7 separate regions of the Homo sapiens genome follow, and all the other regions are linked to region 6. Evidence: promoter capture Hi-C in 16 types of primary human blood cells and fetal thymus (Javierre and others, 2016). All regions are on one chromosome and are shown on one strand. Each heading gives the region's core, a stretch centred on a gene start or on the middle of the fragment in contact. The rest is flanking DNA. Distances are from core to core; before and after follow the strand shown. Region 1 overlaps PCSK2 (proprotein convertase subtilisin/kexin type 2). Region 2 overlaps BFSP1 (beaded filament structural protein 1). Region 3 overlaps RRBP1 (ribosome binding protein 1). Region 4 overlaps DSTN (destrin, actin depolymerizing factor). Region 5 overlaps SCP2D1-AS1 (SCP2D1 antisense RNA 1). Region 6 holds the start of ZNF133 (zinc finger protein 133). Region 7 overlaps BFSP1 (beaded filament structural protein 1).

The links. Contacts are between HindIII fragments. The CHiCAGO score rates a contact against its expected background, and 5 or more counts as called.
Region 1: a contact is called between a fragment that was not itself captured here and the fragment with the promoter of ZNF133 in region 6, in 1 of 17 cell types (M0 macrophages). The highest score is 5.4, in M0 macrophages.
Region 2: a contact is called between a fragment that was not itself captured here and the fragment with the promoter of ZNF133 in region 6, in 13 of 17 cell types (M2 macrophages, fetal thymus, M0 macrophages and 10 more). The highest score is 12.2, in M2 macrophages.
Region 3: a contact is called between a fragment that was not itself captured here and the fragment with the promoter of ZNF133 in region 6, in 1 of 17 cell types (fetal thymus). The highest score is 5.2, in fetal thymus.
Region 4: a contact is called between a fragment that was not itself captured here and the fragment with the promoter of ZNF133 in region 6, in 2 of 17 cell types (activated CD4 T cells and fetal thymus). The highest score is 6.2, in activated CD4 T cells.
Region 5: a contact is called between a fragment that was not itself captured here and the fragment with the promoter of ZNF133 in region 6, in 2 of 17 cell types (activated CD4 T cells and naive CD4 T cells). The highest score is 5.2, in activated CD4 T cells.
Region 7: a fragment that was not itself captured here is called in contact with the fragment with the promoter of ZNF133 in region 6 in 6 of 17 cell types (naive CD8 T cells, fetal thymus, naive B cells and 3 more); the score reaches 7.9 in naive CD8 T cells.

The regions. Positions count from the first base shown.
Region 1 is chr20:17,479,208-17,481,999 of GRCh38, reverse strand. PCSK2 (proprotein convertase subtilisin/kexin type 2) reads right to left here. Exons shown (of 12, transcript NM_002594.5): 12 at 1-416. It also overlaps the pseudogene DYNLT3P1. Among named protein-coding and RNA genes, the nearest start is that of BFSP1, 51 kb to the left of the region's middle. The HindIII fragment of the contact is 2,946 bases long and covers 1-2,751 here.
Region 2 is chr20:17,497,616-17,500,379 of GRCh38, reverse strand. It overlaps BFSP1 (beaded filament structural protein 1), which reads left to right. Exons shown (of 8, transcript NM_001195.5): 6 at 1,340-1,560. Among named protein-coding and RNA genes, the nearest start is that of BFSP1, 32 kb to the left of the region's middle. The HindIII fragment of the contact is 3,679 bases long and covers 1-2,764 here.
Region 3 is chr20:17,633,410-17,636,109 of GRCh38, reverse strand. RRBP1 (ribosome binding protein 1) reads left to right here. Exons shown (of 25, transcript NM_001365613.2): 7 at 446-564; 8 at 2,497-2,650. Among named protein-coding and RNA genes, the nearest start is that of RRBP1, 47 kb to the left of the region's middle. RefSeq lists an enhancer at 1-242. The HindIII fragment of the contact is 2,247 bases long and covers 274-2,520 here.
Region 4 is chr20:17,592,450-17,595,309 of GRCh38, reverse strand. The region is part of intron 1 of DSTN (destrin, actin depolymerizing factor); the gene reads right to left. Among named protein-coding and RNA genes, the nearest start is that of DSTN, 24 kb to the right of the region's middle. The HindIII fragment of the contact is 1,442 bases long and covers 563-2,004 here.
Region 5 is chr20:18,808,942-18,811,887 of GRCh38, reverse strand. It overlaps SCP2D1-AS1 (SCP2D1 antisense RNA 1), which reads left to right. Exons shown (of 3, transcript NR_161343.1): 3 at 1,773-2,537. Among named protein-coding and RNA genes, the nearest start is that of SCP2D1, 3.4 kb to the left of the region's middle. The HindIII fragment of the contact is 6,321 bases long and covers 1-2,946 here.
Region 6 is chr20:18,287,257-18,289,956 of GRCh38, reverse strand. ZNF133 (zinc finger protein 133) reads right to left here and starts at 1,430. Exons shown (of 7, transcript NM_001352452.2): 1 at 1,353-1,430. RefSeq lists enhancers at 698-817, 1,378-1,717, 823-1,728, 1,808-1,857. The HindIII fragment of the contact is 851 bases long and covers 977-1,827 here.
Region 7 is chr20:17,520,158-17,522,911 of GRCh38, reverse strand. The region is part of intron 2 of BFSP1 (beaded filament structural protein 1); the gene reads left to right. Among named protein-coding and RNA genes, the nearest start is that of BFSP1, 9.8 kb to the left of the region's middle. The HindIII fragment of the contact is 3,250 bases long and covers 1-2,754 here.

The DNA.
Region 1 (2,792 bases), core at 29-2,528, 810 kb after region 6:
TCTTGGACATGGCCAACTTGGACTGGTAATCCCGCACCACCTGGTCGATGTACGGGGCACTCTGAGTGCCATGCAGCATCAGGGTCCACTCCTTCAGCACCCCCTTCTGCGGGGCGCTGCCGACAAATCCCAGCTCCAGGGTCCAGGTGCCTCGGGCGTCTTCCCCCCACGTGTGAGTGGTCATGAAAGGCCACTTGTCAAAGCCCACCTTGGAGTCGTCATCCCTTGGACGCCGGCTCAGCAAAATGGACTTGGTGCCCATAGGGGAAGTCATGTTGATGTTCAGGTCTCCTCTTCTGGTTGCGTTGACCGTGATGACAGCCTGGACATGCTCCAGGTAGCGGACAAAATTTTCCTTCCCCTCACAGGCGTCGGTTGTGAGTGTCAGCACCAACTTGCCAGTGGATGGTATTTTCCTGAGGGCAGAGTGAAGAGGAGATAGGATAAGCAGTGGTGGGTGCACCTTACAAGGGATTTTGAGGGCAGCTTCAGGTGGCGGAAAGGGCAAGGGCTTTGGGGTTGATCAATCAGACCTGGGTTTAGTTCCCACACTGGCTGTGTGAGCCTGAGTAAGTTACTTATCTCTTTTTTTTTTTTTTTTTTTTTTTTTTGTCTTTTGAGACAGGGTCCCACTCTGTTGCCCGGGCTGGAGTGCAGTGGTGTGATCTCAGCTCACTGCAACCTTCAGCTCCTGGGTTCAAGTGATTCTCATGCCTCAGCCTCCCCAGTAGCCAGGGTTACAGGCATGTGCCACCACGCCTGGCTAATTTTTTGTATTTTTAGTAGAGACGGAGTTTCACCATGTTGGCCAGGCTGGTCTTGAACTCCTGGCCTCAAGTGATCCAGCTGCCTTGGCCTCCCAAAGTGCTGGGATTACAGGTGTGAGCCACCACGCCCGGCTGTGAGCAAGTTACTTACGCTTGGAACCTTCTGTGTGGAAGGAGAATGTAGTAGATGCTGTGATGTCCCTCCTGAGTCTCCTAAGTCCCTTCTGAGTTCACCTGCAGCTGAAGCTCCCTTGCACGTCCACTGCTTCCCACCCCAGGCACGAGAATCTCCCCGTGTTCCCCCTGGGCTTCCTCCCACCTCCGTGGAAGCCTGCACAGCCTGCGTGCAGGGCGGCCCAAAGGTGGCAGGGATTTAACCTTTGAGGGGTAGCTCTCTCCCAGTGACTGACAGGTTTTTACCCCGGTTTCTCTATTCCTCAGCGTGACAACTCAGTGTCCCTAGTGGGACTGAGCTCAGCTGCCCACGGTGGCAACTCGCTCATTAATGCACTCTTCATTGGCTTTTCTCCCCTTCCTTATTTTACATCTCCAATTCCTCACTTGTGTTACCTGGGATCATTTCTCAAAAAACTGTCAGCACCCAAGTCTTGTCTCAGGTTGGACTTCTGGGACAACCCAGACTGAGGCAGGAACTCATAATGTCTTTCTTTCAAAGTGCTAAGTGCTTTGATAAATAGAAGCTGTTGCTAATATGACTGCCATTACTACCATTAAGAAAAGCTGGGCCGGGCGCAGTGGCTCACGCCTGTAATCCCAGCACTTTGGGAGGCCGAGGCGGGCGGATCATGAGGTCAGGAGATCGAGACCATCATGGCTAACATGGCGAAACCCTGTCTCTACTAAAAATACGAAAAATTAGCCGGGCTTGGTGGTGGGCGCCTGTAGTCCCAGCTACTTGGGAGGCTGAGGCGGGAAAATGGCTTGAACCCGGGAGGCGGAGCTTGCAGTGAGCCGAGATCGCGCCACTGCACTCCAGCCTGGGTGACAGAGCGAGACTCTGCCTCAAAAAAAAAAAAAAAAAAAAAAAGAAAAGCTGAAAATGGGTAAATTAATTCCAGTGAAAGGCAGTCCAATGAATGATCAGGAGACTTTGGGGGAGTCTTTGGCGAGAGTTGGAGCGAGGTTAAGCCCAAGTACTCTCTAGGCTGTCCTTACAGGCAATCTCCTTTCTGGAGATGGCCTTCTTGGAGTGGGAGAAGCTCAAAGGTTCTTGCAGTAGAAAGAAGGAAAAAAGGAAACCGCATTTGAGGATTGCGTGGTGTAACATCAAGACTCCAGACTTTGAGAATAAACCCATTTGGATTAGAATTCTGCTTCTATGTTTACTGCTCATGAGAGCTTGGGCAGGTTATTTAAGCACTCGAAGTTTCACTGTCATTGTGGATAGTTCTTTTTTTTTTTTTTTTTTTTTTTTTGAGACGGAGTCTTGCTCTGTCGCCCAGGCTGGAGTGCAGTGGCGCCATCTCGGCTCACTGCAAGCTCCGCCTCCCGGGTTCACGCCATTCCTGCCTCAGCCTCTCGAGTAGCTGGGACTACAGGCGCCCTCCACTGTGCCCGGGTAATTATTTATATTTTTAGTAAAGACGGAGTTTCACCGTGTTAGCCATGATGGTCTCGATCTCCTGACCTTGTGATCCGCCTGCCTCGGCCTCCCAAAGTGCTGAGATTACAGGCGTGAGCCACCGCGCCCGGCCGTATGATTCTTGTGTGGTTAAATAAGACCATGTATGAAATACCAGGCACAGGCGTAGCTCCGCCCCCAGGGAGAACAGGCGCTACCATGGAGGAGTACCATCGCCACTGCGACGAGGTTGGCCTCAATGCTGAGGAAGCCCACAATATTGTCAAAGAATGTGCAGACGGGGTTTTAGGTGGTGAAGATTATAATTACAACAACATCAACCAGTGGACCGCAAGCATAGTGGAATTATCGTTAACACATCTGCCTAAGCTGGGAAAAGCTTATAAATGTATTGTGAAATGTGCAGTGGTCCAGAAGAGCGC
Region 2 (2,764 bases), core at 182-2,681, 790 kb after region 6:
ATCCTATATGCAGTCCATTGTTGACTGCAGTACTGTTATGTGGCCCATGACTGAGCATTTGTGGGTCTTTGTGTATCATCACAACCTCTTACACTGAATATAAAACTATCTCTTTCTGTTTTCCTCCCTTAATTTTTACTTGCTCTGATTAATGTACTGTATTTCTCTGACATTATTTTATGTGTACACAAGGGCACACACATACACCTTAGCTACCAAAACATAAATGTAACTCTGCCGATCCAAACTCGGGAGAAAATCAAAGCTGAATGAGAACAAGGAAACTTTTCTCCCACTCAGTATTTCAATAAAGGTAGCATCTTATCTATTTAGTATGTGCTTCTTTTTACTTATTTTTTTGCTATCAGATTTATGCTTGTTCATTAAAGTCTGAAGAATGTACTTTATTTGAATTATACATATTATTCCACCGATAGCAAGTTTTTTTTCTTTTTCTTTTAGACAGAGTCTTGCTCTGTTGCCCAGGCTGGAGTGCAATGGTGTGGTCTTGGCTCACTGCAGCCTCTGCCTCCCAGGTTCAAGTGATTCTCCTGCCTCAGCCTCCCAAGTATCTGGGATTATGGCGTGTGCCACCACTCCCAGCTAATTTTTGTATTTTTAGTAGAGATGGGGTTTCACTATGTTGGCCAGGCTGGTCTCAAACTCCTGACCTCAAGTGATCTGCTAGCCTCGGCCTCCCAAAGTTCTGGGATTACAAGTGTGAGCCACCTGGCCTAGGTTTCGTTTTATTTTCTAGGTTTGTCTTCAGACTGCCTTTGGGGTGGGCCTCCTTATGGACTAATTGCAGAGGGTGCTGATATTAGTGCAAGAAGGGCTGGGTGCGGTGACTCGCACCTGTAATTCCAGCACTTTGGGAGGCTGAGGTGGGAGGATCACTTGAAGCCAGGAGTTTGAAACCAGCCTGGGCAACGAAGTGGGACCCTATCACTACCAAAAAAAAAAAAAAAAAAAAAAAGCCCAGCATGTTGGTGCTTGCCTGTAGTCACAGCTACTCAGGAGGCTGAGGTGGAAGCCTTTAGCCTGGGAGGTCGAGGATGCAGTGAGCCGAGATTGCACTCCTGCATTCCAGCCTGGTGACAAAGTGAGATCCTCTATCAAAAAAAAAAAAAAAAAAAATTGTGTAAGGACACAGGAGCTCAGTTTTCACATTGCTTTTTAGCTTAAGGATTCCAAAGTGATTCATTGCTAATCTCGAATGGACAGAGAAACACACAAACAACATAAAACATTCACCGAGTCCAGGTTCCTTTTCCTGGTGAGGTCTGTCTCTTAGAGAAGAAGGGGGATGGATTTTCTTACAGCGTGTCCTTGCCCACAGACAACAACTCTGGAACAAGCTATTAAAAGTGCCCATGAGTGTTATGACGATGAGATTCAGCTTTATAACGAGCAGATTGAGACACTGCGCAAGGAGATTGAGGAGACAGAGCGGGTCCTGGAGAAGTCTTCTTACGACTGCCGGCAGCTGGCGGTCGCCCAGCAAACCCTGAAGAATGAGCTGGACCGGTATCATCGTATCATCGAGATTGAAGGCAACAGGTGAGCGTGTGCCCTCCCCATCCAGGCCACTTATTCCTTCCACAACTCTTTATTGAGTGCCTATTGTGTGCCAGGCACAGTTATAGGCAGTGGGCATGTGTCAGGGAAGGAAACAGAACAATTCCTGACCCCATGGGTGTTGGATAACTAGTAGGGGAGACAGAGGATGAAGGTACGACCAGTGCTGAGGAGGAAGTTCCCGCAGGGAGGAGGGTGGTGGCAATAGGGGTGATGGGGGAATGCTTGCAGTTTTAAGTAGGGTGGTCAGAAAAGGCCTCACTGAGAAGCCTGTGTTTTGCTCATAGGCCTCTGGGGACATAAGTGTCCCAGCAGGTGGGATGCCCAGGAGTATTTAATGAGGTGCTGCAGGTGAGCTACGTGGCACGGAGCCTGGCACTTGAGGGCACTCAGAGGTGTTGGTGATGCTCCTGCTGCCATCCTCACAATTCTTAGCACCTTGCTGAGTCAGTCTGTGGCTGTGACTATGTGGCTGTCTGGTCTTCTCCATAATGGAGCTGTGAGTCGATCCCTACTCACTTTAAGAAAGCTGGGAAATTCTCTCTTTCTCTCCAGCTATGCTGGTATTCATAGCTACGGTGATTTCCAGAGAACGGGTTGGGAATTAATTTGTGATTCTTCACTTCAGTCTTGCTAAATTCCTGGGTTTCGACTGAATGAAAAGAGAAGCCCCCCACAACTGAGGTCCCCACCAGGAGCAGCTCTTCCCTTCGCGCTGGGTGCTCTCTCTTGGCTGTGAGCACTCGAATGCTTGGCAGGAGAAGCAGGATTTTATTTTTCTTTCTCCAGTGCTGGTCGGTGTATCTGGCATGATTCCACATTATATTTATGTCACAGTGAACACTATGCACACATCTGCAAGAATAAGTCTGGAGCTGGCATTTCGGTGACTTTGTAAACATTTTTGTTTTGGGACAGGGCTTCACAGAAAGGTGACTGGATACCTCTTTTATTTATCTATAAGTTCTGATTTTGGTCTAATTTTAAATTGATAGAAATGTTGCAAGAATAGAACAAGGAACTCCTGAATACTCCAGATTCACCAGTTGTTTATATTTTATCTCAATTGCTTTATCATTTTTTCTCTATTTATATATGATGTGTGTGTGTACATGTATATGTATATATGTATATACGTATATATGAGTAGATATATGTATATATGTATATATGTGTGTGTATATGT
Region 3 (2,700 bases), core at 148-2,647, 650 kb after region 6:
TGCACCCTGCTCATAGTGGGCTGCGACCTCCTCCCTGCTGCATGTCTCAGGACGTGCTGGAGGTCAGAGGGCAGGAATCGAGGCTTCCTCAGGGGGGTTAGAGGCGGTGCATGTGCTTTGTCTTAGAACAGTCAACCATGTGACCTTGGAGGCAGATGTTCATGGGGTGTGTCAGAGACCCTGGGCTGAGTGTTCAGCCTTGGGCAGGCCATGAGCAGTGAGGAGGGAGAGAGGTGTCGCTGGGTGTGGGAGTCATGCTTGGCCGCTTAAGCTTCGCAATTTTCAGGCCTCTTGTTTTATGGGATCCTCTTAACTTCCACGTGGAAAAGGTGGAGGCTTTTGGGGGTTTTCTTTTGTGGGCTGTGTCTTCACTAACCACTGCTCAGAAGTCAGTTCTGTGTGTGAGGCCGAGCTGCCTCTGATGCCCTTGCCCGTGACTTTCCAGATCCGGACTCTTCAGGAGCAGCTGGAGAATGGCCCCAACACGCAGCTGGCCCGCCTGCAGCAGGAGAACTCCATCCTGCGGGATGCCTTGAACCAGGCCACGAGCCAGGTGGAGAGCAAGTAAGCTGAGCTTTCCTGCCTCAGCACCTCCCCAAGGGCCCTGGAGCGAGGAAGGCTTCACGAGGCTGCGGCCAGGGCAGCTGGCACAAGAGCCAGGCATGGGCCCTACATGTGTGCGGAGCCGTCCTGACCTTCCATCTCCCGTCTGGGTTCTGGGCCCCTGAGTCTTCTAACAGGTGGCCCAGCGTCCCTGTGGTGGCTGGTGGTGGGCCTCGACTGTGCCCTGGAGCACAGCCTCCTGCTCTGCAACACCCTTGCTTCAGATGCACTGGTACTAGGGAGGGTTTCCAGCACCCACCTGCCTAGCGGGGTTCTCATCTCAGTGTTGTCTCTGAGTTGCTGAAGCACCGCAGCCCACAGCAAGTGGGCCGGAGGGTGCACTTCCCCTCCGGAGTTGAGTACAGCCGCACTTCTGCTTCCCTGATTTAAGCATTACACCCTCAGTGGCAGCCCTCGAGAAACCCACTGCAGTGTCTTTAGTTGTACATTTCTTTGCTTTCTCTGGTCCGAAGTGTCCTGCAGGGACTTGGCAGAGCTCTGTGTTATCCCGAAAGCCTCTGCTCTCACCAAGGCAGGGGCTGACCACAGCAGAGCACGCTGGCACCCTTAGTCCTTGTCTGGGAGTCGGGTCAGGGGAAGTCCAGTGTGGGAGCTGGACAGGGAGGGGAGCTGGGCCAAGTATCTGTTTTGACTATGGCTCCCTCTGACGTGGAGTGAGATCCAGCAGCTGCCTTCCCCTCTGCCTGTCCCCTCTGGGTCCCCTTCCTGAGCCATCGGCTGGTTGGAGGTTTGTGGCTGCTGTTTCCCCAAAAGCCACAGCAGAAGGCATATGTGGGGACTGAGAAATTCTCTGGCGTCTCCCCACATAGGATCTGCTGTGGCCTCCTTAATGGGTAAGGCTCTAAAGCCAGGAGACTTGTCACGCTGAGGCAGTGGCCCTGCCAGTCCAGAAGCTCTGGCTGGTGGGTGGCTCTCAGCAGCGGGATGTGTTTTCCCAGGCCCACTTCAGAGCTCCCAGTCCATCTTGAGGGCACCACACGACCTTCCGCCTCCCTCCTAGGTCACTTGAACCTTGGCCTTGTGAAGCATGGAGCTGATGGACCTACAGTGGGCTTTGGTGTGGCCTCCCCGGTACAGACGAGGCAGCCCCCAAGTCAGAGAGGTGGGACCCACCACCCCGCAGGCAGCAGAGCAAATCTAGCCTCAGCCCGGTTTCCCAGCTCCGCCTGGCCTGGTGCTGCGTCCCAGGGTTTGGGACAGTCTCGTCTGGTGGTGTCCCTTGGTTGGACAGTCAGTCTTTGGCCTTGAGGCAGCGTCTGCTAGTGAGGGAGTGGCATCCTGATCACACGCCTTACGCTGGAAAGGCAGGCCTCCAGCTGCCCCCTTTTCCTTTAAGTCTCCTTCTGTAACTCCGGAACATTCCTCCCAGCTCCTGAGACCCAGCTTTTGAAGTGCAGTCCTGAAGGGTCTGTTTTGTAAGCACCTCAGGCTCTGGCTTTGGGCAGCCTCCCCAGCCTGGCCCTGGTCCAGCTGGCCAGTGAGGGGGCGCGTGGACTCCGTGGGCTGCTGCCCACAGGCCTACAGGGCGTCAAGGCGGGTGGATCTTCATCTCAAGGCTGGTTTGCACCCAGAACTGTGTTGCCGTTTTCTGTGAATTTCTGGCTGTTTCTGGGAGGGGCTCCCCTGGGATGCTTTAGTGCACATTTGCTCTATGCTGTCTCTGGTTCATGCACTATATAGGTAAAACAATGTCTTCAACAAAACACATGCCCAACCCCACACAGCTGATAATGGAAAAGTGGCTTTGGTAATGGCTTCAAGACTTGGGCAACTGCTTACTTACAAGAGAGCTGGAGTCCTGGAGGGAGGGCTTGGACCACCGATCCCATCACCCTTTTCTTTCCATTAGTCGGGCTGGTGACTGTCTTGCAGGCAGAACGCAGAGCTGGCCAAGCTTCGGCAGGAGCTCAGCAAGGTCAGCAAAGAGCTGGTGGAGAAGTCAGAGGCTGTGCGGCAAGATGAGCAGCAGCGGAAAGCTCTGGAAGCCAAGGCAGCTGCCTTCGAGAAGCAGGTCCTGCAGCTGCAGGTGAGTCGGGGCAGTGGCCGCCTCAGTGCCCTGTTCACTGCCCAGCAAGC
Region 4 (2,860 bases), core at 34-2,533, 690 kb after region 6:
GCAGGAGGAGTAGGATGGGTTTGAGGGCACTCCTCCAATCTACTACTACTAACAATTCAGAACAGCTATGACGGGGAGTTCCAAAAGGAACTACCTAAGGACAAGAAAAAGGGCTCTGGGGACCTCCAAAAGGTCAGCTGAGGTCAAGGGGTGAGGGTGGTAGGACAATGCAGTGGAAAGCAGAGGCTGATGGCAGTGTGGAAGGAAAGGACGAACTCTGCATTCTTCCTCAGAGAGTTTACCCAAGCTCAAGCTTTCAATCATCTAAGCCAAAACTTAGTTCAGACTTCTGCTCTTCTGAGCTTCTAGTCTTTACATTCAACTTCCTATCTCACATCTCCAGTTGTGTGTCTCAAAGGCATGTGATGCACAACATGTCTAAAATAAAAAACAAGCTGGTCCATTTCTAACCAGTCTTCCTTTCTCAGTAGCTATCACCACCCTCCTAGTCACATAAGGCTCCAAGCCTAAGAGATGTTCTTAGCAACTCCTCCATTATCTTACTCTTTGGATTTTCATCTTTCTCTGATACATTCATCTCATTTCACCCTCAGTCCAAGCTTCCATTGCCTCTTACTTGGACTGCAGTAACTCCTCAAGTGGCTGCAGAGGAGGGAGATTAGGATATGTATACATCATACTGTTTTCTCTTCTTGGCTGAACAGGAAAGACTGCATTCCCCAGCCTTCCTGGCAAGCTGAGTTGGCTGTATGACTGAGTTCTGAACAGCCATTTGAGTTCTGAACAGCCAAGCTGGGCCCAGTTATGTAAACTACTTCCAGTCCTGGCCCTTTAAAAGTGATCTTTAAATACACTAAATACAGCTTTTTAGATGTGAATCCTACCACAATAAAATGATTTTTAAAACATCAAAAATTAAATAAAAGTTAAATAAAAGTGATCTTAAAGCTCTGTTTTCTCCCACCAAGATGACCTTGGTAAGCATACTTCATGATAGGAGAAGGCTGCCCAACCCTTCTGGACTCTGCGTGACAGAGACAAATCTTTACTGTGTTAAGTCACTGAGATTTTGAATTTAATTTGTTATTGCAGTTCTAATACAACAAGACTGCCCATACCAACTGCCCATCACCTTTACCCTCCAATTCATCCTCTACATAAACATGAATCTGATCACCATACTTAGAACAGTCCAGTGGCTTTCCATTGATCTGAAGGTAAAAAATAGCTATTTATTTATTTATTTATTTATTTATTTATTTATTTTTGAGATACGGTGTCACTTCGTCACCCAGGCTGGACTGCAGTGGCATGATCATAGCAAACTGCAGCCTCGCACTCCTGGGCTCAAGTGATCCTCCCACCTCAGCTTCCTGAGTACTGGGACTATAAGCACGTGCCACCATGCCCAGCTAATTTTTAAAATTTTTTTTGTAGAGACAAGGTCCCACTATGTTGTCCAAGCTGGTCTCAAACTTCTGGCCTCAAGCTATTGTCCTGCCTTGGCCTCCCAAAGTGCTGAGACTACAGGTATGAGCCACCACCCCCAGCCCAATAATGGGCTCCATTTGGCTATACCTACCTCTTTAGCCTTATCTTATAGACCACACACTGCAATTTCACTACCCTGGCTTTCTTTCAGTCATTTGTACTTGCCATACTCTGGCCCACTTCAGGGCCTTTGCTCATACTATACACCCTGCCTAGATAGCACTTCCCTACAGTTCTTTGGCTAATACTCTTTAGATGTCAGATCAATTCTCACTACGCAGAAAAGTCTTCTGCATCAAAACCAGTATCACATGCTCCCATAAGATCATGTATCTCCACCACACACCACCTCCTACCACTTCAATGCTCTATCTTTAAAATTACTTAATATCATCTCCTTAAGGCCACAAGTTCTTAAAGACTGTAAGTTCCTTAAGATAAACGGTGTCTGTCTTATTCATTATTGTGTTACCCTGAAAAAAAAATCAAAGATCAGTCAGATGAATCATTAGTTTGACTTATGGAGAAGATAAGGACAGCACATACAAAGCTTCAATACTTGGTAGAATATACATTATTCCTTGATAAACTCCAGTGGAAGGGAATTTAAAGAAAGTAGCTTAAACAGAAAGACAGTTCATCAGGTAGTTTCATGCTGACTTAAAAGCACTCTAAAACAAGGGGACTGAAAGGATGAAAAGACTGCTCCTGACAAAGAGAACCCAGCAAATACAACAGGAGATGAGGATAAGGGAGAAGGAAACTGGAGACTCGCACCAGGTTGAGATGGAAAAGGCCTCCAACAGAAGGTTCAGGGGTTTGGAGACTGGATATTTTTAAAAAGAGTAAGAGGAACAGAGTTGTGCTTTGGGAAAATACATGAAGCCATGCGTAAGAGAACAAGAAGAGGAAGAAAATTATAGTAGGCACTCCAGCTAAAAGGCTAATTCAGCAACCAAGGCAAGAGGTGCAAAAGGCCTTCACTAGGGTAGTGGCAGCATTACTAAGGAGGAAGTGATGGGAACTGCATAGGTGCAATCAATTGTAGTTGACAATCACTGGACTGGGAGAGGGGAGGTGGAAAGGAAGGAGTCTGTATGGTGATCAGGAGGCTAATTAATAATGCCAAATGCTCACTTTCCTTAATTTCCCCACTGTGGTGGCTTTGATATTAGAGTAGTATGGCTCTTCATGACTAGTAACTAGTAGTATGGCTCTTCATGACTAGTAACACTATATACTAAATTTTGCCTGCAAAAATAATAAAAAACCCACAAGGTATAGTATATGTTAGATTTAATGAATATACTTAAATTTATTATACCATGGTTTACTTACCACATCCTTGAGATATGGTGAATATTAAAACCGAGATAAAAGAAATAAAGATTAAATAACCGGTTCCGAG
Region 5 (2,946 bases), core at 288-2,787, 520 kb before region 6:
CTGTGGGTCATAATCTACTATTATCATTGTTTATTTCCTTGCTAAATTGTCCCAGATTTGGCCATAGGGAGCTTCATCAAGTTGGAGCCTGTATCCTTTCCTATACCAAACTGCTCTTATGTGTAAGCAAAGCTCTGTTATATGGAGTTGCTGGAAACTTCGTTCTTTCTGGGAATGTTGCAGAAGAATGAAAAAGGCTTCAAAGTACATTTGCAAAGATGGATGAGCTGCTGTTATCAAAGCTGAGCAGTTAAACAAAGCCCAGTGTCTTCCAAAACCATGTTCTTGCCATGAGGTCACCAGGTATGGACAACATCAGCACAGAGATTTTAAAATGAGGAGGGCAGGAATTCCCCAGCAAGTTCACTATAAGCAGTCAACAAAGAACTGAGCCCCACCACTGCCCGTATCTCATTTTCCTCAAAGACAGCGCCGTCCCATCTAAATTATTCAGGCAGGTCCCCAATAGGGCTGTCATTCTCCTGCCACAGTGTGTCCGAGGGGAATGCAGTTCCACAGCTCATACATAAGAAATCCAAAACATGCCAGGACTCAAGGGAGCACTTCCCCAACGACATTCTTTAGAATTGTCCTCCAATAGAAATAATAAAAGTAGAGACACTGTCTAGTCAGTTTTATTATTTAAATTCTCAACAGATACTACTGCCTTGTTACCTGCACCGTGGCAGGCTGCTTCTCCTACCTTGACTGCCACCCCATTGGCATCTTGAAAACACGCACCCTGCAACTGGACACAATCTTCCTCAGCCCTGTTGAGATTCTTTCCCCTTTGGTTGCCATTCAGACCCAAGGATCTGGTCCCAGCAGATTTGTAGCTTTTTGTTTCTGAATTCTTCAAATGCTTTAAAGGAATGTGAGAGGCATGGAGATCTGTTCCCTAAGAAATACAATTAAATTAAAATTTAAAAATAAAAAATTGCAAAACCATTTTATTAAATAGGATGCTTTTAGCTTCAAGTAACAACCACTACCATAAAAACTGATAATGGTTCAATTCAGTGGTCCCAAAATGGGGTCCCCAGGCCAGTGGCATCAACTCCACCTAGGGATTCATTAGAAATGCACATTCTCAGGCCCCATGCCAGATCTGCTGAATCAAAAACTCTGGGGAGGGGACCCGGCTGTATTAATCAGGGTTCTCCAAAGAAAAAGAACCAATATGATATATAGAGAGAGAGATGAAAGGAGTTATTATAGGAACTGGGTCACATGGTTTTGGAGGTCAAGAAGTCCCACATGCAAACAAGGGACACAGACAGGGGGTGTAATTCATTCCAGGTCCGAAGGCCTGGACTGGGGGGCGGCGGGGGTTGGTGTAAGTCCTGGACCAGGACCCCAGATGTCCAAAGGCAGGAGAAGATCCACGTCTCAGGCCTGGCAGAGAGGCTGAGTTCCACCTTCCCCTCACTTTTTGTCCCATTAAGACCCTCAATAGATGGGATGATGCCTCCCACATTGGGGATGGCCATCTGCCTTACTCAGTCCACCAATTCAAGTGCTGTCCCCTCCTTCTAGAAATGCTTCCATGGACACTCTCTGAAATAATGTTTTACCTCTGGTCTGGGGATCCCATGGCCCAGTCAAGTTGACACATAAAGTGAACCATCATGCCAGCAACTGGGGTTATAACAGGCCCTCCAAGGTCTGAAAATTGGGTTTTTCTACTATGGCTTGGAGAGGTCAGCCAAGACCTCTGTGCTGTGTCCACTCTTGCATTCTACCATCCTCAATGTGTTGCCTTTTGTCCCCAGTTTGTCACTTCACGGCTGCCTGGCTGCCATGGCTCCTTCCATCACATCCTCAGAAGACAGCAGCCCAAGCCAAAGGGACAAAAAAGACCTCTCCTTGGACCTATTGCTTACCAGAAAGAAAAGGTCCCAAGGCCTCCACTGGTCTCACTGGCAAGGACTGAATCACATGTCCATCAGGATTCACACCCCTGAGCAGGGCTCCCCGTCCCTTGGACAGAATTGGAGTTGGGGTAACAGGAAAGAAAAGGGTGTTGCACAGCGACAAGTGCCCACCACAGGTACCCACAGCTTCTTCCATTGCACCTCGGAAGGCAACAAGGAGAAACCCCATCATTTTTGAGAGCTTTGGTGTCATTACATTTCAATAACAAAGGTCATTTCCCTTTTTTGCCAGCCTCCTCATTGGGAACAAAATGTGGCTGGGGGCTTTCTTTCTGAAAGTTTGCAAATCCATCTCCCACTTGCCAACCCAGCACCTGGGCAGGTGTATTCACTCACAGGTGTCGGGCTGGCAGATGGGTCAAACAGAATAGGGGAATGGGATTAAGAAGTGTCACCCACCCCCATCCCCTGAATGGGAACAAATCTATGTCACCGAGTTTACCCTTGCTGTGAGGGCCTCAGACAAGGTGCCTGCACCTGGGTATCAGATGCAGTGAGAGGAGAAGGAAAGGACTTTCACCTTTTACTTTATATATTCTGCTTTGTTTGTAATGAGTGTGCACTCTCTCCATGGTTTCTTAATTGAATACAATTTTTCCAACATCTTATTCTTAAAATTTTTAGGCATATTTTGCAAAGTTGAAAGATTTCTACAGTCAACACTCAAATATTCACCAATATTCTATCATTGCACTATATTACACTTGTTTGAAGCTCTCCATCTTATTTTTATCTTATTTTTATGTTTCAAAGTAAATTACAGGTATCAGTAGCCCCCAAACACTTGAGTATGCAAAGCATTTACTACAGTACAATATTTCTTTAGTTTTTCATGTAAAATTTACACACAAAGAAATGCACAAATCTTAAGTGTACATTTGCTGAGAGTTGACCAATGCACACACCTGAATATAACACATTTTAGTACTAAGGAGCTGAATGCCACGTGGCCCACAGCCCCCAGTTGCCTTGAGAGACACACAGCCATCTGCAGTGTGTGCAGAAGCATGAA
Region 6 (2,700 bases), core at 181-2,680:
GGGAAATCCTCTCCAGCAGGGCAGTACCTCCTATTCCTTAACAGCATCAGGAATGAACCTGCCACAGAAGAAAAGGAGAAAAGAACTGCGGGCAGCTTCCTGGGAACACAGCTGGGGTACAGGTTGAAAGCACGACCTGCCCTGATATGCTGTTGACGCTGAGCATGAAGCGACCTTCTCTGTGCCTGTTATTAATGAAAGGTAATATTCACTGAACACTTAGTATACACCAGAGACTGTTACAGCCACTGTAGGAGTTTCACCTCATTCTATCCTTTCAACAACCCAATACGATAGATGCTATTATCCTCTTTAGGATAAAATCGAGGAAACTGAGGTACAGTGAAGTCAGCATCTTGCCCAAGGTGACACAGCTATAAAGTGACAGAGCCTAGAGGAAATGTGGCTGTGGAGACCGTGCTCTTACACAGTAAGGGCAGTGACGGTGAACTCTGGATTGCAAGGATTCTCTGTGTCCATTCTGAGATGAATCAAGATTGGTCATAAGGTTTTAAGTGTTGAATCTGGGTGATGGAGATCTGGTCTATAGAGTTCTATCTACTTCTGGCTGTTTGAAATTTCTCCGCAATAAAAACTTAAATGGAATGTAAAATCCCAAAGCCTGGCCACACCAGGGGCCTGGGAATCCGTAATTCTTGCGATCAATGACGGTCCCTGGGACCTTTGGAAAAAACCTGTCCTGTGCGTCCCAGCCAGACTTCCTCCTCCAACGCCCGAACCCGGGGGTGACCAACCAAAGTGAAACCCTAAGATCGCGGCAAAATGGCCACCCCAGATCCAGTCTAACCTTGGCTTGTTTGGTCAAGCCAGACCGCTCCTCATTCCACTCCAGCAAAGCCGAAGAATAGTGTGGCCCCAAGAGACTAGCCCTCAACCGACCAATGCCTCGGGGACACATGGCCCCAGGGATGGTTCCCATTCCACCACCTGGGAAATACCATTCCCCCAAAAAGCTTATTTATTCAACTCCCCCAAAACCGGGGACTTATGGCATCAGCGACTCCCTTTCCCAATACCCGACTTCAGCCAAAGCCGAACCTGTCCCCACCCACAAGAACCCTAGGAGAGAGAGCCCGATCCCCCACTCATCACCATCCAGTTTCACGGATGGGCTTCACCCAACTCCCCTGGAGATGCACGCCCACACCCCCAAAATAAGACATCTGGGAGAGGACGGCCTGCGCCACGCCAGCGCGTTCCCACCACAATCACCACCCCCGCGCCACCCGCACGGTCCCCAAATTCAGCCCATAGTCCAGCCTTTCGGGACCTTCCTTTTCGCGCAGAAAAGGGTACGGCTGCGGCAAGGGTCCCGCGGGAGCCTCACTCACCAGCGCCACCAAAGAACAAGGGGTCGCTCCAGCCACCAGCTGGGGAGCTCCTCCAGCGGGGCGCCAGGACTACACTACCCCGAATCCTCGGCACAGCGCCCGGACCACACCTCCCAGGATGCTCGGCGCCACCAGGCGCGCCCTGAAGGCCGGCAGCTCCCATTGGCCTCTGACGGATCCGTTTCTGAGTAACACGCTCCGGTCACCGGAGAATGGCCACTGTGGCACCTGAATTCTCCCTCTTTTTTCTTAACCACGTGCATAAAACACGTAGGAGCTCCCGAGAAGAGTGCCTGGCCCTACTGTGACCCTCCTTCTGAGCGCCTCTGTCTCGAAAACTACACTTCCCAGTGACCCCTGGAGCGACTTCCGCACCCGGTACCGGCCCCGCCCCTTGGCGCGCGGAAATGACGTTTCGGGGCGCATCTGTTCGGCTTCTGGGGTTGGCGGAGGTGTACCGCTGGCTGACCAAGCTTGTTCAGGTGCTGGTTTGTGTTGCAGCGGCCTGTGGTCTCCCTGGCTCCAGCCGCCTGCTTGGAAAGTCACGCCCCATATTCCTAAACACCGGGCGAACGTCATGTCGTATACCCTTTAGCTCCATTTAAAGCCTTGAAAAGGCCGAGCAGTCTGCCTGAAGTCTCACATCCCGTACGAGGTAGACCCGATTCTGAGCCCACGCCCTCAACCCGAATACACCTTTTCCGGTGCCCTGAGACCTTTTTCTTCTTTTTGAAATCCACGAAGTTATTGTTAAACTCTCATCTCCTGAGAAGCAGAAGCCTCAGTCTCGGGCCAGAGCTTGGCCTGCCGTCGGCTTGGATCTCTAGGTCTTTGTCCGGGATCCTGGTTGAGAACAAGATTGCGCTGGTGCCATCTGGGACGCCCCATCTGGGGAGCTCGAGGGGAAGGCCCACGTCACTCTTGAGAGGGCTTTTCCACCCGTGCACCCTCTCACTGCCCTTCACCTTCCTCAGATAGGCTTTCTGAAACTTTGTCATTCTCTTGGAAGACCAAGAAAATGACCACTGTCTGAAGGGCCAGGGAGATGAGAATTTCCTAAAATTCTTTTGTAGCTCTCAGAGGGTGAATCCATTCCCTTCTGGTACCCCGAGGCTACATTATTTATTGTGAATTCAGTTCAGTCCTGGCTCCGGAGACATGTCCAGTGTCAATTGGATTCATCCCTCAACATCATTCTCTGCCTCATGAGTCAGTCATCACCAAGAAATTAGTTGTTAATACACATAAAGGTTCAGAACAACAATGCAGGGATGCCTGTGTTCAAGTGTTCACTTGTGCTGGCTGTACAATAAAGACACAGATGGCTGACATCTCTTAAGCCTGGAAA
Region 7 (2,754 bases), core at 71-2,570, 770 kb after region 6:
TGTGACTAGGAACCTCCTGCTACAGCTGAGCATCTGTGAGACTGTGGGCCAATTGCCTTGTCCCTCTGAGCCTCGGTTTTTTCATCTGTGAAATGGAATCACAATACTCCCCACCCACCATAGGAGTGAAAGTGCCTAGTGAGAACTAAATGATGTAATAATGTATATGACTTGCCCATCACCTGGTGGTGCTGAATCCCTGATCACTGTTATTACTACAGAGCACTTGATGTGACAGACACCAGCTTGGTTTTCTCCACAGTGTGGGTGCAGAACCCTGTTGAAATGGGAGGTGACTTTAGAAAGTGCATGGAGGAGTGATATTTAATAGTTGTGAATTTTTTATGATTACCTGTTATTTACAGCGGATGACATAAAATATTCCTTTCCAAATAAACCTACGTAAGAATGAGTACCTTTAAAGACAAATACAGAGTGAATAAGATGCAGGTGGTCCTTGGATAATAGTAGAAATCATAAACACAGCAGGCAGATGCAGGACGCTGGGGAGGGCCTTGTGCAAGCCTGTGGGAGCCTCAGAACAGCCCGTGGTTATTGGGGGGGCAGGTTTTATTCTCAGAAATGACCTATTCCAAATCCTTCTCTGGGCCAGTGAGGAAACTCACCCTTGATGAGGTTAAATGACTTCAGAGCCTCGCAGCTCAGCCGTGGTAAGTGTAGACAGGAGTTGGGGTCTTTTGTATTTGTGGTTCATTCTCTACCTCCAAAGAATAGTCAGGGAACCGGTATTACTCAGAGGCCAGACACGAAGCCAGAGAGTTCTCGGCTATAGGTGGCCCCATGGACCTTGATGTTGGTGTCCTGTCCACACACCTTGGGCCATGCCAGTGGTCACTCAGACACGCTGAACACCCTGATCACTGCCTGCATCTCGGGCTCTGGGAACATGCATGGCCCACATCAGTATAGTCCAGAAGCGCTGGGTGTTAACACCCCAGGAACAACCCTCAGTTGCTGTGGACTGGGATAGGTGGATAAGTTCCCCACCCCTCATAGTGATGGTTCAGAGCCACATTCCACATGGTCCCTCAGAGGGACCCCAGCCGTACTGAGCTGTCTACAATGGCAACCTGCTCGTCACATTCCTTCATTGGTTTTGTTTCCTTCTCTGGCTCACTAGCCTCCCTTACCTGTGCTTCCTGGGATCACCTCCCAGATAAGCCACAGGTACCCAGTCTTTGCCTTGGGGTCCACTTCTGGAGAACCCAAATAGTCCCTCAAGGGCAGGGCCAGGTGAACACTGGACCTTTTTGTTCTCTGCTGAGATCATCAGATGACATGAAAGAGGCTAAAATTCACATCGCATCAGCTGGTCGTGTGAGTGATTTTGGCCTGCAGGTTTTGGGTATTTTCTTACATCAGATCAACGAGGTTTTAGCTCAGTCTCAGTGGCCATTTCCTTTGGTCTGACTTGTGGAAGGGATTCATCCCTGGGTGTGGCCGTGGGACATCACTGATCCAGTCTTTGCATCCTACTTGGAGGATATTGCAGTGTATGTGAAAGGACTGATGGCCCCTGCCTTCACAAAACCACCATGCATTTCTTCATGCTGCCCGTGTAATCAAGCCTACGGAAAGAGCTCCTGTAGTTTTATCAGCCAGATAAATTATAGTAGGCCACTCTTTGCTGTGCACTTAGAAGTGAAGTAAACTCCTCAACACGTTACCTACAACCTATGGCCAAAGTTATTCAACTTCTCAGCCTTTTGATGTAGTAGGAATTCCAGGTGACTTTAAAATATTTGGGTTTGCTAACTTCTAGATCTCATGGTCACCAAATATATACGTATGAAGTTACTGGTCTGCTATGATGCCTGATTTGCTTATCTTGAGGAAACTGTAAGCAGCAGACTTTAAAATCTCCCTCTCCTTTTCTCTTTAAAATTCCCAGAATTTTAAAATGATGTGGTTTCTAGTCAAATGCTTTCACTTAAAAACAATTTTAAAAATATTTAAAGGCTGACATATATACTTTTTCATGTAATTCATGTGTCTCTTAAACGTGCCTGTGGAAAGCAGCAAGAGGCCAGGGAGTTTAGGGGATAAAATGGTGCAGGCATGAAGCCCTACCTTCAGGGCTATGCCTTTGTATGCCAAGAATTCCTCTGAGCCCGGAAATGAACTTCCGGAGAAGAGAAGGAGAGGAAACTGGGAAGGAAGAGGAGGAGTCTGGGGGTGGAGAGGCAAGAGGAGTGGAGGAAGAGTCAGGATGAATGCAAAGGGAGAGACAGCAAAGTTGAGGAGACTGAGGCAGAGGCAAGAGAGAGGGTGGAGAGATGTAGAATTTGTCCAGTGCCCTCCAGGCCAACATTAGCACCTGGAAGAACAGCCATAACATTTTTGGAAAGGTTTTTGACATCCAGAGTTGAAGGAAAAGTGTTTTTTAATTAAATTCCAGCTAACTAGAACTCTTAATGAACTTAAATACCCATTCTTTAGCAGTTGGGTTTTAAATGGAGTTTCTGGGATCCCTGTGAATAGGTCAGCAAGGCTGTTTTTTTTCCTTTTTAATCCCCACCATTTGAGTTAAAAAAGGGCTGATTTTCAATAATGCTCCAAATTCTAGTTATTTCTCCAGCTCCTTTCTAAAAACATGGCTGTAAATAGTCTAGATTAGTGGTTCTAAAACTTCAGTGTGCATCAGTGTTACCTGGGGTGAAAGGTGGGCGGGGTGGGGGGGCACGTTAAAACCCAGACTCCTGGGCCCCAGCCCCAGAAATTCTAAGCCAGTAG